Regions from separate parts of the Homo sapiens genome. Here region 2 is linked to region 1. The links are contacts of gene promoters, found by promoter capture Hi-C in human tissues and cell types (Jung and others, 2019). All regions are on one chromosome and are shown on one strand. Each heading gives the region's core, a stretch centred on a gene start or on the middle of the fragment in contact. The rest is flanking DNA. Distances are from core to core; before and after follow the strand shown.

Evidence for each region. Contacts are between HindIII fragments. The study calls those that stand out against the background at their distance.
Region 2: a contact is called between a fragment that was not itself captured here and the fragment with the promoter of SRP68 in region 1, in 1 of the 25 tissues and cell types used here (spleen).

What each region holds. Positions count from the first base shown.
Region 1 is chr17:76,070,302-76,076,291 of GRCh38, forward strand. SRP68 (signal recognition particle 68) reads right to left here and starts at 2,216. Exons shown (of 16, transcript NM_014230.4): 1 at 2,007-2,216; 2 at 77-143. The coding sequence starts at 2,190. GALR2 (galanin receptor 2) reads left to right here and starts at 4,480. Exons shown (of 2, transcript NM_003857.4): 1 at 4,480-4,950. The coding sequence starts at 4,583. RefSeq lists enhancers at 1,503-2,330, 2,329-2,378, 2,331-3,158, 4,545-5,426. The HindIII fragment of the contact is 13,843 bases long and covers 1-5,990 here.
Region 2 is chr17:77,356,798-77,363,721 of GRCh38, forward strand. The region is part of intron 2 of SEPTIN9 (septin 9); the gene reads left to right. Among named protein-coding and RNA genes, the nearest start is that of MIR4316, 37 kb to the right of the region's middle. RefSeq lists enhancers at 1-227, 6,861-6,924. The HindIII fragment of the contact is 6,488 bases long and covers 2,396-6,924 here.

The DNA of each region.
Region 1 (5,990 bases), core at 966-3,465:
GCAGAGTAAACAGGATATTAACAAAAGCAAAGCAAGTCCCACAATGATTTCCAAACATCTTGTATGTGATACTAACCTGTACCTCTGAAAATCTCCATGCCGTAAACCATGCTGCTGCTGGGATTCCTTAATAATCTGAAGAACTAGAGTCGAGATTAAGGAAAATCTTACCATAGCAAGAATCCAAACAAATCAAAACCTGTACCATCAGTCTATATCTGTGTCAAACCACAACACATTAAACATTTGTGAAATATAGCCAGGTACGGTGGCTCATGCCTGTAATCCCAGCACTGTGGGAGGCCGAGGCGGGTGTATCACCTGAGGTCAGGAGTTCAAGACCAGCCTGGCCAGCATGGTGAAACCCCGTCTCTACTAAAAACACAAAAAATTAGCCGGGCGCAATGGCTAGCACCTGTAATCCCAGCTACTCGGGAGGCTGAGGCAGGAGAATCGCTTGAACTTGGAAGGCAGAGGTTGCAATGAGCCAAGACAGCGCCACTGCACTCCAGCCTAGGTGAGAGTGAGATTCAGTCACACATGCACATGCACACACACACACACACACACACACACACAAATTTGTGAAATATTTAGTACACTGGTGAGATCTTTTGTAACCATTTTCAATATCTATCTTGTCACAGGACAGGGCTAACCTACAGGAAAACTGATTGCCTGAACTGTTACTACTTGCAAACTGAAAAAGGAGGGCACTACTGGCCACTGGAAACTGCCAAAACCCAGTTTAAATTAAGCTGATGGATTCTAAATGCTGACTATAATTGGGGTGCTTCACACCAATTAACACCTAGACCCCACATTTTATTCATTCAGATTCAGGTTATAAATGACATGTACTAAGCCTCCATTTGCATAATCTCCAACACCTGCCAAATCTAACTTTCCTTAACAGCTGTGATGCTTAGAGAGTCTATGATTAGCACATGTCAACCAAGCTAGGCTACAGTTTGCATAAAAGTATTAAGGTTTTTCTTTCAAAAGAAGAATGGCCAGATTCTCCTTTTAATAATCTTAAAATATTTAAGATTATGTACTAATCTTTAGAAAGTCCAATGACCTTCATCTATATAGGTATAGTTTTAATGTTTCCTCAACACTTCTCTAGAGACATATTTTAAAATAGTGAACGCTAAAAGGACTCTTTAAATTACTAAAACGGGACAAAGAGATATAAAGGTCTCAGTAAAATCAGGGCTCGCTAGCGTCTACTTGGAACTATTACCAGTAATTCAAAATATTTAACTCCAAGCGCCTGAGAACTTTAAGCACATTAAGATGTCAAGTTGAATGTGTTATTTCAGAAACTCGCCTACGTTTTCTCCATTTGTTATTCATTTCAAAAGGTCACAAACTAGTACCACAAGCACTTGGTTGAGATACACACTGATGGAAACTAGAAACCGATTCCTCCAGCTTATATGAATGACTGTCAGCAAGATAAAATGCCTACAGACCGATCAGAAAAAAATGACACAATCGATATTAACTACGGTAACTTACAATCAAAATGGGCAACAAGCTTTTCCTGAGTCAATCTTTACCTCCACTTTCAAAGTATCGAGCTGTAGGTTTTACTACTCAGTCTATGACGACTGTCAGACAAGAGTATTAAGCCAAATGTCAAGACTGCAGTTTCCTCTCCCCAGTTCAGTGGCTCAAGGTGCCAAAGCAAGGTGCTCAAGGTGTCACTTGGTCACAAGCCCTCCAACTGGACAACTGCGGGGCACCAGGGGAAACCTGCCTGATATCCCAGTGCCACTGGAAGAAACGGACCTAGCCAGGACGGCGAGGGGGACACGAGGAAAGACTAGTCGAGAGACAGACCCCCCCCGGAATTCTGAGCACCAAAAGGTAAGGGCGAGAGAAACTGCAACCCTCGGCCTCTCCTGCCAGGACTTGTCGGGACCCGCCGCCTCTCCCGCCCCCAGCCCTCCAGTTCGACACGTAATCATTGCGAGTTAGGCCCGATTACTCTAGGATACTCTCCAAACTCAGGCTATCCCCAAATTCTTTGTTTGCCTTCGATCCGGCCGAAGGGCGTTCGTTTTCTTTATTTTCTTCCCCTCCGGCACCACGTCCACCGCCGCTACCGCCGCCGCCACTGCCACCGCCGCCGCCACTGCCGCCGCCGCCGCCGCCGCCTGGGACCTGCTTCTCAGCAGCCATCTTGCCCCTGCGCCGCAGAGCAAGACGGGATAGGGGAGGCGGGACGACCTGGGCGGGTGAGAGCTGGACCTGCCTGGCCGGGCTGATGGGATAGCGGCGGACTCCGCCGCCGTCGGCCCTTGCTGCAGCAGGGCGCCATGTGCTGGAGCGCGCCTGCGCGAGGGATCCTGTCATCCCGGGTCCGGAATTGTGGCTGGCTAGGTGGGGACTTGAGGCCGCAGTGAGACCGTGGCTGCTGAGATCTCAGGGGGCAGTCCCACCTCCCACCCACTAAGGGCGGAGAACCGGAGGTGGACCCCAGGTCCTGCATCCTGGACTGGGGATCTGGTTCACGTCCTGCCCAGCAGAAAGCAGGAGACCAAAGATACTGGATTTCGGGGTGTCTGCATCCCCAGGGACTCAAGAGATGGGGTCCTCCCTACCGGAACGGGACACCCCGTCCGTAAGGGACCCGCCTCTGCCTGCCCTTTCCTCTGAGGCTGGCCGTAAGAACGCCAAGCCGGAGGAAGCGCTGCGCAGTCAGCAGACGGTGTCCTAACGGGGTGACTTTCTCAGACCGCTTGGGGCCGTGGACCACTGCACTTTGGGGCCGTCAGTCCAAAGAGGGAGAAGTGTTGAGACATGGGAAAATATGAATTTTTGCTTTGCACCTTCTAGAGTCTGAGACCTGGGATTCCAATCCCCGCTCCGTCATTAGCGGCAGGGACATGTTGGGCACGTAACTTAATCTCCCTGTAAATCTGTTCCTTCATCTATGAAATGGGGATAACCAATTTAAGTGGTTGTTAGGAAGATTAAATGACGGATTTTTTTTTTTTTTTTAGATAGAGTTTCGCTCTTGTTGCCCAGGCTGGAGTGCAATGGTGTGATCTCGGCTCACTGCAACCTCTGCCTCCTGGGTTCAAGCCATTCTCCTGCCTCAGCCTCCCGAGTAGCTGGGATTACAGGCGCCTGCCACCACGTCCCGCTAATTTTTGTATTTTTAGTGGAGACGGGGTTTCACCATGTTGGTCAGGATGGTCTCGATCTCCTGACCTCGTGATCCGCCCGCCTCGGCCTCCCAAAGTGCTGGGATTACAGGCGTGAACCACCGCGCCCGGCCCTGAACTCTATTTTGAATTTCCTCAAGGTATACGGAATAAGGTCAGGAGAAAAAGAATAAGGATCTGATGCATTCAGATTTAACTAACTCTCCCATACATCTCATTCCTTTCTCAGCAGATCCCTCTTAGAAGGAAGTGTTACCATTTCCTTGTTACAGCTGAGGAAACTGAGGCATGGAGCCAAAGACAGAGCCTGACACAATAGATGCTCAGTATATTGGATTGAATTGGAGGGAAAACGTTCAATGGGTAAGAGAAGGGAAAAAGGTGGCCGGGCTCGGTGGCTTACGCCTGTAATCCCAGCACTTTGGGAGGCCGAGGTGGGCGGATCACTTGAGGTCAGGAGTTTGAGACCAGCTTGGCCAACATGGTGAAACCCCATTTCTACTAAAAATACGAAAATAAGCCAGGCGTGGTGGCAGGCGCCCGTCATCCCAGCTACTCGGGAGGCTGAGGCAGGAGGATCGCTTGAACCCGGGAGGCGGAGGTTGCAGTGAGCCGATATCATGCCACTACACTCCAGCCTGGGCGACAGAGTGAGACTCTGTCTCAACAAATACAAATACAAAAAACTAGCCAGACGTTGTGGCGGACGCCTGTAGTCCCAGCCCCTCAGAAGGCCGAGGCAGGAGAACCGTTTGAACCCGGGAGACGGAGGTTGCAGTGAGCCGAGATCGCGCCACTGCACTCTAGCCTGGGCGAAAGAGCCAGACTCCGGGGCCCCTCATCCGCCTCCGCCCCGCGTTTCCTCCCCCCGATCTCCCAGGGGTCCTCTTTTGAGGGCACCCCAGCCCCTCGACGGTCCCGGGATATCCTGCACCCCTGCCAGGCTGCAGGGAAGCGCCGAGGCGCGCGGAGTGCGAGGTCCGTGCTCCCTGCGGCGCGGCGCACACGCAGGGTCCGGGGTCGACCCCTCCACCGCTCCGGCGTCTGCCGGGGAAGTCAGTCCGCCTGGTCAGCCCAGAACCCCCGACTGCGGGGGCTGGAGCTCGGAAGCAGGTACAAGCGCCACTCTCCGCCTGCGCCGTGGAATGCGCGCCGGGACCACTCCGCAGCCCTTCCCCCAGCGCCGCCGGCCGCTGCTGGGGACAACCTCGCCCTCCTGTCTCTTGCTCCTCCTCCTGACCCCAGCGCACCCCCATCCCCGCCCCAGATGAGGCAAGGCTCCCTCCGCCTTCAGCCCGGCAGAGTCGCACTAGGAGTTGCAGCGGCCGCAGCCCCGGGAGCTTCCCGCTCGCGGAGACCCAGACGGCTGCAGGAGCCCGGGCAGCCTCGGGGTCAGCGGCACCATGAACGTCTCGGGCTGCCCAGGGGCCGGGAACGCGAGCCAGGCGGGCGGCGGGGGAGGCTGGCACCCCGAGGCGGTCATCGTGCCCCTGCTCTTCGCGCTCATCTTCCTCGTGGGCACCGTGGGCAACACGCTGGTGCTGGCGGTGCTGCTGCGCGGCGGCCAGGCGGTCAGCACTACCAACCTGTTCATCCTTAACCTGGGCGTGGCCGACCTGTGTTTCATCCTGTGCTGCGTGCCCTTCCAGGCCACCATCTACACCCTGGACGGCTGGGTGTTCGGCTCGCTGCTGTGCAAGGCGGTGCACTTCCTCATCTTCCTCACCATGCACGCCAGCAGCTTCACGCTGGCCGCCGTCTCCCTGGACAGGTGAGCCAGCGCCTTGGCCTCCCTGGGAGATGGGCATCCACGCGGGGGATGGAGCGGGAGGCGGGACTGGGGACCAAGAAGGGACGCGCAGAGTGGGACAGGACACTAAGAAGGCAGTGGAAGACAAGCGGGCGCGGAGGAGGAAAAAGAGGAATAAGAATGGGGGACCGTGGTGTCCCTCGGTTAGATGCGTCCTGGGGCCTGGAAGCCTGGAGAATGTGGCTCTCCAGCGCCGCCCGTGCCTGACAACGCGCAGCGTTTCCCAGTACGACGCGTTTGTGCGCGTTCATCTCGCTTGAGCTTAATGCCCTCCGTGAGGGTGGGATAGGACAAAGTGCCCAATATACAGAAGAGTTGAGTTCCTAAGTAACTCGCTCAGAGTCGCCAGCCAGGGATCGGGTGCGTGAAGTGACCGTCTGTCTCCTGCAGCCAACTTCAGGCGCCTCCACTGCGCTCGCCTCCAAGCCACGGTTTGGTTGGTTGGTGCAGCTGGCTCAGGTCCAGGCTGTGGATCTTGGGTCCTTTGCAAGGATCCACTCCGGAGTCCCAGCGAGCGTGCCTAAAGGTCCCTAGCTCAGTCCCAGCCCACTCTGCCTCTCGCCTCCAAACAAAACAAAACAAAATAAAATCCAAAACAAGTCGGGGCCGGGAGAGGAGCGTGCCCTGGGGTTCTTCCTCCCCAGCCAGAGGAGAGCGAGAGACGCACATTCGGGAGAGCGCGGGACTCAGGTGGAGCTTGAAAGGACACTGGGATGGTTCCTGGGGAGGAAATCCGGGTATTTCCCCTCTCCATCCTCTGGAAAAACAGAGAGGCGAGGCCAGACTGCCCCCACACCTCCTGTAGCCACTGAGCGCGAAGTGCGTTGGTTCCGAGCGCGCTGGTGGGATCCACAAAGCTCGCATTCTCTCAGGAATCCCCTGAGAAATTAACTGTCCCTTGCCCAACATGTCTTCTCCAGGCTGTCTGCTAGAGCCTCAGGCGCCTCCGCCCTCCCTCCCGCGGCACCGTCACCAGTGGGTAGTCACAGCCTCCCGGAGCC
Region 2 (6,924 bases), core at 4,390-6,889, 1.3 Mb after region 1:
GTGGGCTCTGGCAGGCCAGGCGCTGAGCAGCCTCAGGAGACACAACCCTAGGAAAAGGCTCATGCAGGCTGGCTGTCATGACGGACTGTTGGTGGGAGAGGGGAAGGCGCCGTGGTAGGGGAAGCTTTGGAAACATCCACTAGTGGCCTTATTTATGACTCAGGACACCTGCCAGGTCACTAGAACACAGCTGAGGAAGCTGTCGGCCAGACGTCCAGAAGCATCAACCTGGTGGCTGGGCTGTGGGGGGACCTCTCTGGACAGGCAGACAAGGTGTCGGAGGAAGGGGCTGACACTCACTCAGTGTCTGTCATGCACTGAGGGCACAAAGGGCAGGATGGAGAGCTGGCCCACGCCACCTGTGGAATCTTCCAGGTGTGGGGGCAGATGGGGAAGCAAGGGGGCTTGAAGACACATGCGCTCATTAAATGTCCTTAAATCCCAAGAAGAAGAACAAGGACACATCCACAGGGGCAGGGCTGAAAGTCTGATGCATGGTGTTTTGGGGTCTGCTCCTGCTGCAACAGCTACAGTGGCTCCCTCTTACCTTTCTCTTCCCTCCATTCTGTTGTGAAAATGTTCAAAACACATGGTCAAGTTGAAAGCATTTTACAGGGAACACATTCAGCCATCACCTAGATTCTACCACTAACACCAAGCTACACCTGCTTTATCACCTCACCGTCCATCTATCCCTCCTTCGCCTGGCCATGAATCCATTTTATTTTTATTTTTTGGTGCATTTCAAAGTAATTTCAGGTCATCCTGATTATCTCTGGAATCACTGTCAGAAATTCCCTCCCTTCCCCTCCCCTCTCCTTTCCTTTCCTTTTCTGAGATGGGATCTTGCTAGGTCACCTAGGCTGAAGTGCGGTGGTGCAGTCATAGCACACTGCAGCCTCCAACTCCCGAGCTCAAGCAATCCTCCTGCCTCAGCCTCCTGAGTAGCTGGGACCGCAGGCATCCACCACCACACCCAGCTTCATTTTCAAAATTTCTCACCAACTCCTCACTCCTTGTATTCACCCAGGACCACTTCTCACAAAGCCAGGGTGCTGCAGGAGGGGTCAGAACCCCAAGCCCTAATCCTGGCTCTGTCATTAACACTGTGCGACCCTCAGCAAATCATTTTGCCTGTCTAGGTCCTGTTTTCATTCCTATGAAACGAGGGCGTTAAACTGTATGTTATAAATAATGAGGGCTACCAGTTACCAAGCTCCTATTTTAGGCCAGGCACTTTTCACATGTTATTATGAGTCCTTTCAATCTAGGTATTGTTCTCAATGGACAGCTTAGTCAACGGAAGCTCAGAGAGGTGGTGTAACTTGCCAAAAGTCCCACTACCCAGTGAATGTCCCCACGGGGTCTGCACCCAGGAGTCTGACACAGAGCCCAGGCCTCAGCACCTGGCGATGTTTTGGGGGTGTGAGCAGCCCAGCCTACTCTGGGCACGTGTTTACTTGCTGTTCCTTCTGCCTCATGTTTGTGTTTGTCCCCTCTGAAGCTCAGACTGTTATTTTCCAGTTCCAAATACCAAAACTGGCTAGGCACGGTGGCTCATGCCTGTAATCCCAGCACTTTGGGAGACCAAGGCGGGTGGATCACTTGAAGTCAGGAGTTCAAGACCAGCCTGGCCAACATGGTAAAACCCCATCTCTACAAAAAATACAAAAATTAGCCAGACATGGTGGCGTGCACCTGTAGTCCCAGCTACTCAAGGAGAACCCAGCTACCCAGCTACTGAGGCACGAGAATCACTTAAACCTGGGAGGTGGAGGTTGCAGTGAGCCGAGATCGCACCACTCCTCTCTAGGCTAGGCAACAAGTGTGAGACTCTGTCTCAAAAATAATAAATAAATAAAATAAAATAAAAATTAAAACCAAATGCCAAAACCAACCCACAAAATAAACCTTGGTTAAAGTAGCCTGTTCATTTTGCTTTAACTATGTATATTGCACCAGATTCTGCCAGGGGCTCAGCGTATAAAGATGAGACCCCTGCCCTGCCAGACAGGTGGGATGATGGCCATACCTTGAGTTAGTCAAGGCACCATCTGGCTGTGTAACAAAAGCTAAAACATCAGAGGCTGAGCAGCACTCGGACCCACGTCCCAGTCCAAGTGTCAGTCGTTATGGGGGCCCAGGACAGCCCGGACCTAGTTCATTCCTTTGGTGCATCCTCGACACACAGCTTCCATCTCTTGAGCTGAGATGGTTCCAGCTCCTGCCGTCATGTCTGCACTCCAGCCAGAGGGAAGGGAAGAAGGGAGAGGGGAAAGGGCAAGTGTCCCTCTTTATTTTTAAGGGCATGACCTGAAAGTTAAACACTTCAGCTCCTTCCCACTGGCCAGAACCCAGTTGTATGGCCGCTCCTGTCATCAGGGAGGCTGAGCAATGTATTCTTCAGCTGGGCTTCCCTGTGCACAACCAAAACTTCAGTTACTATAGAAAAAAGGGAGCTCAGATATTGGGGAAACAACTAGCATCTGTACCACATGCACTGATAGCTCTCTTTGTATGAACAGAGCTGTGGCAGGCCCTATGCCAGGGAGAAAGTAAGATTGGAAAAGAGCTTACCAAGGAGGTGGCATTTGCACTGTGCTTAAGGGGCAAGAAAAACGTCTTCCAATCAGGAGCCACAAATGCTTGGCTGAAGTGCTACTGCTCTTTCATCCTGGAGCTGGAACAGACGTCACCAGTCAATCATGATGGCTGCTGGGTGCACTGGCTAACATCTATAATCCCAGCACTTTGTGAGGCTGAGGGTGGGAAGATTGCTTGGGGCCAGGAGTTTGAGACCAGTTTGGGCAAATTGCAAGACCCTGTCTCTGCAAAAAAATATAAAATGTAGCTGAGTGTGGTGGCACCTGTAGACCCAGCCCCAGCTACTCGAGAGGCTGAGATGGGAGGATCGCTTGGGCCTAGGAGTTCGAGGCTGCAGTGAGCTATGATTGCACCACTGCACTCCAGCCTGGGTGACAGAGCAGGACCTGTCTCTAAAAACAATAAAATAAAATCAAAGTTTTAAAATGGAAAAAAAATCATGAGCACATAACTCCAGATGTATCCTCAAGATAGCAAACCCGGGTGGGCGCAGTGGCTCATGCCTGTAATCCTGGCACTTTGGGAGGCCAAGGTGGGTGGATCACCTGAGGTCAGGAGTTTGAGACTAGCCTGGCCAACAGCCCCATCTGTACTACAAATACAAAATTAGCTGGGCATGGTGGTGGGCACCTGTGATCCCAGCTACTTGGAAGGCTGAGGCAGGAGAATTGCTTGAACCCAGGAGGCGGAGGTTGCAGTGAGCCAAGATCACACCATTGCACTCCAGCCTGGAGAAAAAAAGCAAAACTCTGTCTCAAAAAAAAAAAAAAAAAGCAAACCCAGGGCCAGGTCTGTAGCCACATGGCCACCTTCTTCCCTGAGCATGGAGGCAGCCTCAGAAACCTGCCCCACATCACATCAGTGGGCAGTTGATTGGGTCAGCCTGCCAGTTGAACCCTATTTGCCACAGTCATTCTCCATAGTAAGGGGCATTCTAGACATACCCCCCTTCCCAGGGAAGAATAAGCCGTAGCTGCCTGAGCGTTTTATCCAGTGGTGTGCATGTCTTTTCCCAACTCTGTGTTTAGTGATGTCCTGTTTGTAGCTTGAAATTTGCCACAGTGGGTGTGTTTACACCACAGGAATTGGCAAACACTACATATCAGGCCTTACCTCCTGCTCCCTACTAGGGTAGGTTGTTTTTTTTTTGTTGTTTTTGTTTTTTGTTTCTTTTTTTTTTTGAGACGGAGTCTCGCTCTGTCGCCCAGGCTGGCGTGGAGTGATGCGATCTCCGCTCACTGCAAGCTCCGCCTCCCTGGTTCACACCATTCTCCTGCCTGAGCTTCCAGAATAGCTGGGACTACAGGCGCCCGCCACCACACCCGGCTAATTTTTTGTATTTTTAGTAGAGACGGGGTTTCACCGTGTTAGCCAGGATGGTCTCGATCTCCTGACCTCGCAATCTGCCCTCCTCGGCCTCCCAAAATGCTGGCATTATGCCACTGCGCCCGGCCTAGGGTAGGTTGTTAGAAATGTACCAGCCTGCCAGTTTCAGCCTTGTTTGTCTTTCATCCTTTTTTTTTTTTTTTTTTTTTTTGAGACGGGGTCTCTCTCTGTTGCCCCCCAGGCTGGAGTGCAGTGGTGTGATCCTGGCTCACTGCAACCTCTGCCTCCTGGGATCAAGTGATTCTCCTGCCTCAGCCTCCCAAGTAGCTGGGATTACAGGTGCCCACCACCACGTCCAGCTAAATTTTGTATTTTTAGTAGAGATGGGGTTTCACCACATTGGCCAGGCTGGTATCGAACTCCTTACCTAAGGTGATCCACCCGCCTTGGCCTCCCAAAGTGCTGGGATTACAGGCGTGAGCCACCGCACTGGGCCTCTTTCGTTCTTTCTTAATGAAAATCTTCCTGAAAGATTTGCCTACTGATGTCTGTGTCAATAGGTACTGCCTGCGGGACAGAGCCTGCCCTCCTTTTGAAGGTCTTTCTCTGTCTGGGTGACCATCTGCATGTCACTCCCTGCTGCTCAGAACTAAAGATGTAGCTATGCCTGGGGTAGGTTGGGAAAACCTGTGGGAATCACAGAGCTTGCTGTCATGCTGTGTTCTGGATACCTGAAGCTTGGCAGGCAGGTGGGATCGAGGGTGGGCATTAGGAAAGTGATGTGGCTCTATAGGAAGGGGACATAGGTCCTGAGATTTTAGGTCCCCAATTGGACAAAGCTGTTTTTTTTTTCTGGATAAATGTTCTAGCTTATTCATAATCGAGTGGTCAGTTTTCTTTTCTTTTCTTTTCTTTTTTTTTTTGAGATGGAGTCTCGCTCTTTCGCCCAGGCTGGAGTGCAGTGGCGCTATCTCGGCTCACTGCAAGCTCCGCCTCCCAGGTTCACGCCATTCTCCCGCCTCAGCCTCCGGAGTAGCTGGGACTACAGGCGCCTGCCACCGCGTCCGGCTAATTTTTTGTATTTTTAGTAGAGACAGGGTTTCACCGTGTTAGCCAGGATGGTCTCGATCTCTTGACCTCGTGATCCGCCCGCCTCGGCCTCCCAAAGTGCTGGGATTACAGGCGTGAGCCACCGCGCCCGGCCAAGTGGTCAGTTTTCTCAGCTGCCGGGTCTTGCACACCTTGCTGGCTCTGGAGACCATATGCACCATGTAGACCCCATTTGTTTCCTACCCTCAGTGTTGGGGGAGGGGCCAAGGGCCTGTCGATGTGTTGACACCTGGCCATTCACTGGCCTTGAATGTCCACATTCACCTCCTTGAAATCGATGCCCCGTATCGGAGGCTCCATGTGGATTTGGGGGCAGAGGCCTGTACTCCAGATGGTGGGGTGGCCTTCACCAATCAGGCAGATTCCCTGCCCTGCCCTGCCCTTTGGGCTCTGTAGCTCCAGATGTGTGCTCAAGATCTGTGGCCACATGGATGGGACAAGCCACAGAGACTCAGACTCCGTGGTCCCTGTGACCAGAGTAGCCGTGGCCCTGTCTGGGAATGTTCCCACCCTGTTGCTGAAGGTGAGAAATTTCTCTGTGCTGGAGAACAGCTGTGCTGAGAAGTTGGCCCATCTGGCTTGCAGGACTGCTGGGGCAAGGGAGGTCTGCTGCCGGTCTCTTCCTTCCTCCTCTGACTGGGTGCTCCTTGTCTAGGTTCCTTGCAGCAAAAGAATTCTCTAATTTATTTTGTTCCCTTATTGAGTCTCTACTCCATGAAGCCCACCTCCTAATCCCAGCTGACTGGCTCCCACCTCCTCAAGAGGAAGGCCAGGGGCAGACGAGGCTGAAGGAGGCTGACTCCCCTGTGCCTTCGCAGTCTGAGCTGATGCTGCTGTATGTTCACAGGGCTCCTTCAGCTTTTAAAAAGGCTTCAACACGTTCGTCACACGCTTGTGGCTCTCCTGGATGCCACACTAACTCAGTAAGGCCTGAGTTAGAGGCTGTTCCTGAGGCTGTGAAAATAGAAGAAGGGTCCAGAGGAGAATCCCTTCATCTGACGATCCCAGGAAGGCTTCCTAGAAGAAGCAGCCTCTGAGCTGAGACCTGAAGACAGATCAGGCCTGAGTCAGGCCAGGGAGGGTGTGAGGGGCCCACCAGGCAGAGGGAACAGGATAGGGCAGGCACAGAGGTCTGGCACCTGGCTTGTGGGGAAGTGTGAGCCCCTGGGCATGACCAAGGCGGGGAGAAGTGGCGTGAGAGGAGGCAGATGTGGCTGGCAGGAGATCGGCGGCCCCGGCCTTGCTGAGCTCCACTCTGTATGCACCAGGTGACAGAGGCTGCCCAGGACGGTGGGCAGGGAAGTGACAGGTCACATGGTCATCCCACCAACAGCCGGGAGTCCAGCTTGGGGGGACCCAAGACCCTGGGGAAGGCACGAGTCAGGGGCCTGCTAGAGCCAGGAGCTAGTGGGAGAAGGAAACAGTGTTGCTTATGAATTATAAACAGACACTCCCGCAACTTTCTCTGACGTGATACAATCTCAAAGTGGGCCACCCAGAGGTGGGAAGGTGACTTCTGGCTCTCCAGGCCTTGGGCCTGTCTTTTTTTTTTTTTTTTTTTTTTTTTTGAGATGGAGTCTCACTCTGTTGCCCAGGCTGGAGTGCAGTGGTGTAATCTTGGCTCACTACCACCTCTGCCTCCTGCGTTCAAGCAATCCTCCTGCCTCAGCCTCCTGAGTAGCTGGGATTACAGGCACCTGCCACCACACCCGGCTAATTTTTGTATTTTTAGTAGAGATGGTGTTTCACCATGTTGGCCAGGCTGGTCTCGAATTCCTGACCTCAGGTGATCCGCCCACCTTGGCCTCCCAAAGTGCTGGGATTACAGGCATGAGCCACTGTGCCCAGCCGAGCCCATCTTCAAGTTCTCCCTGGCCCTCAGTG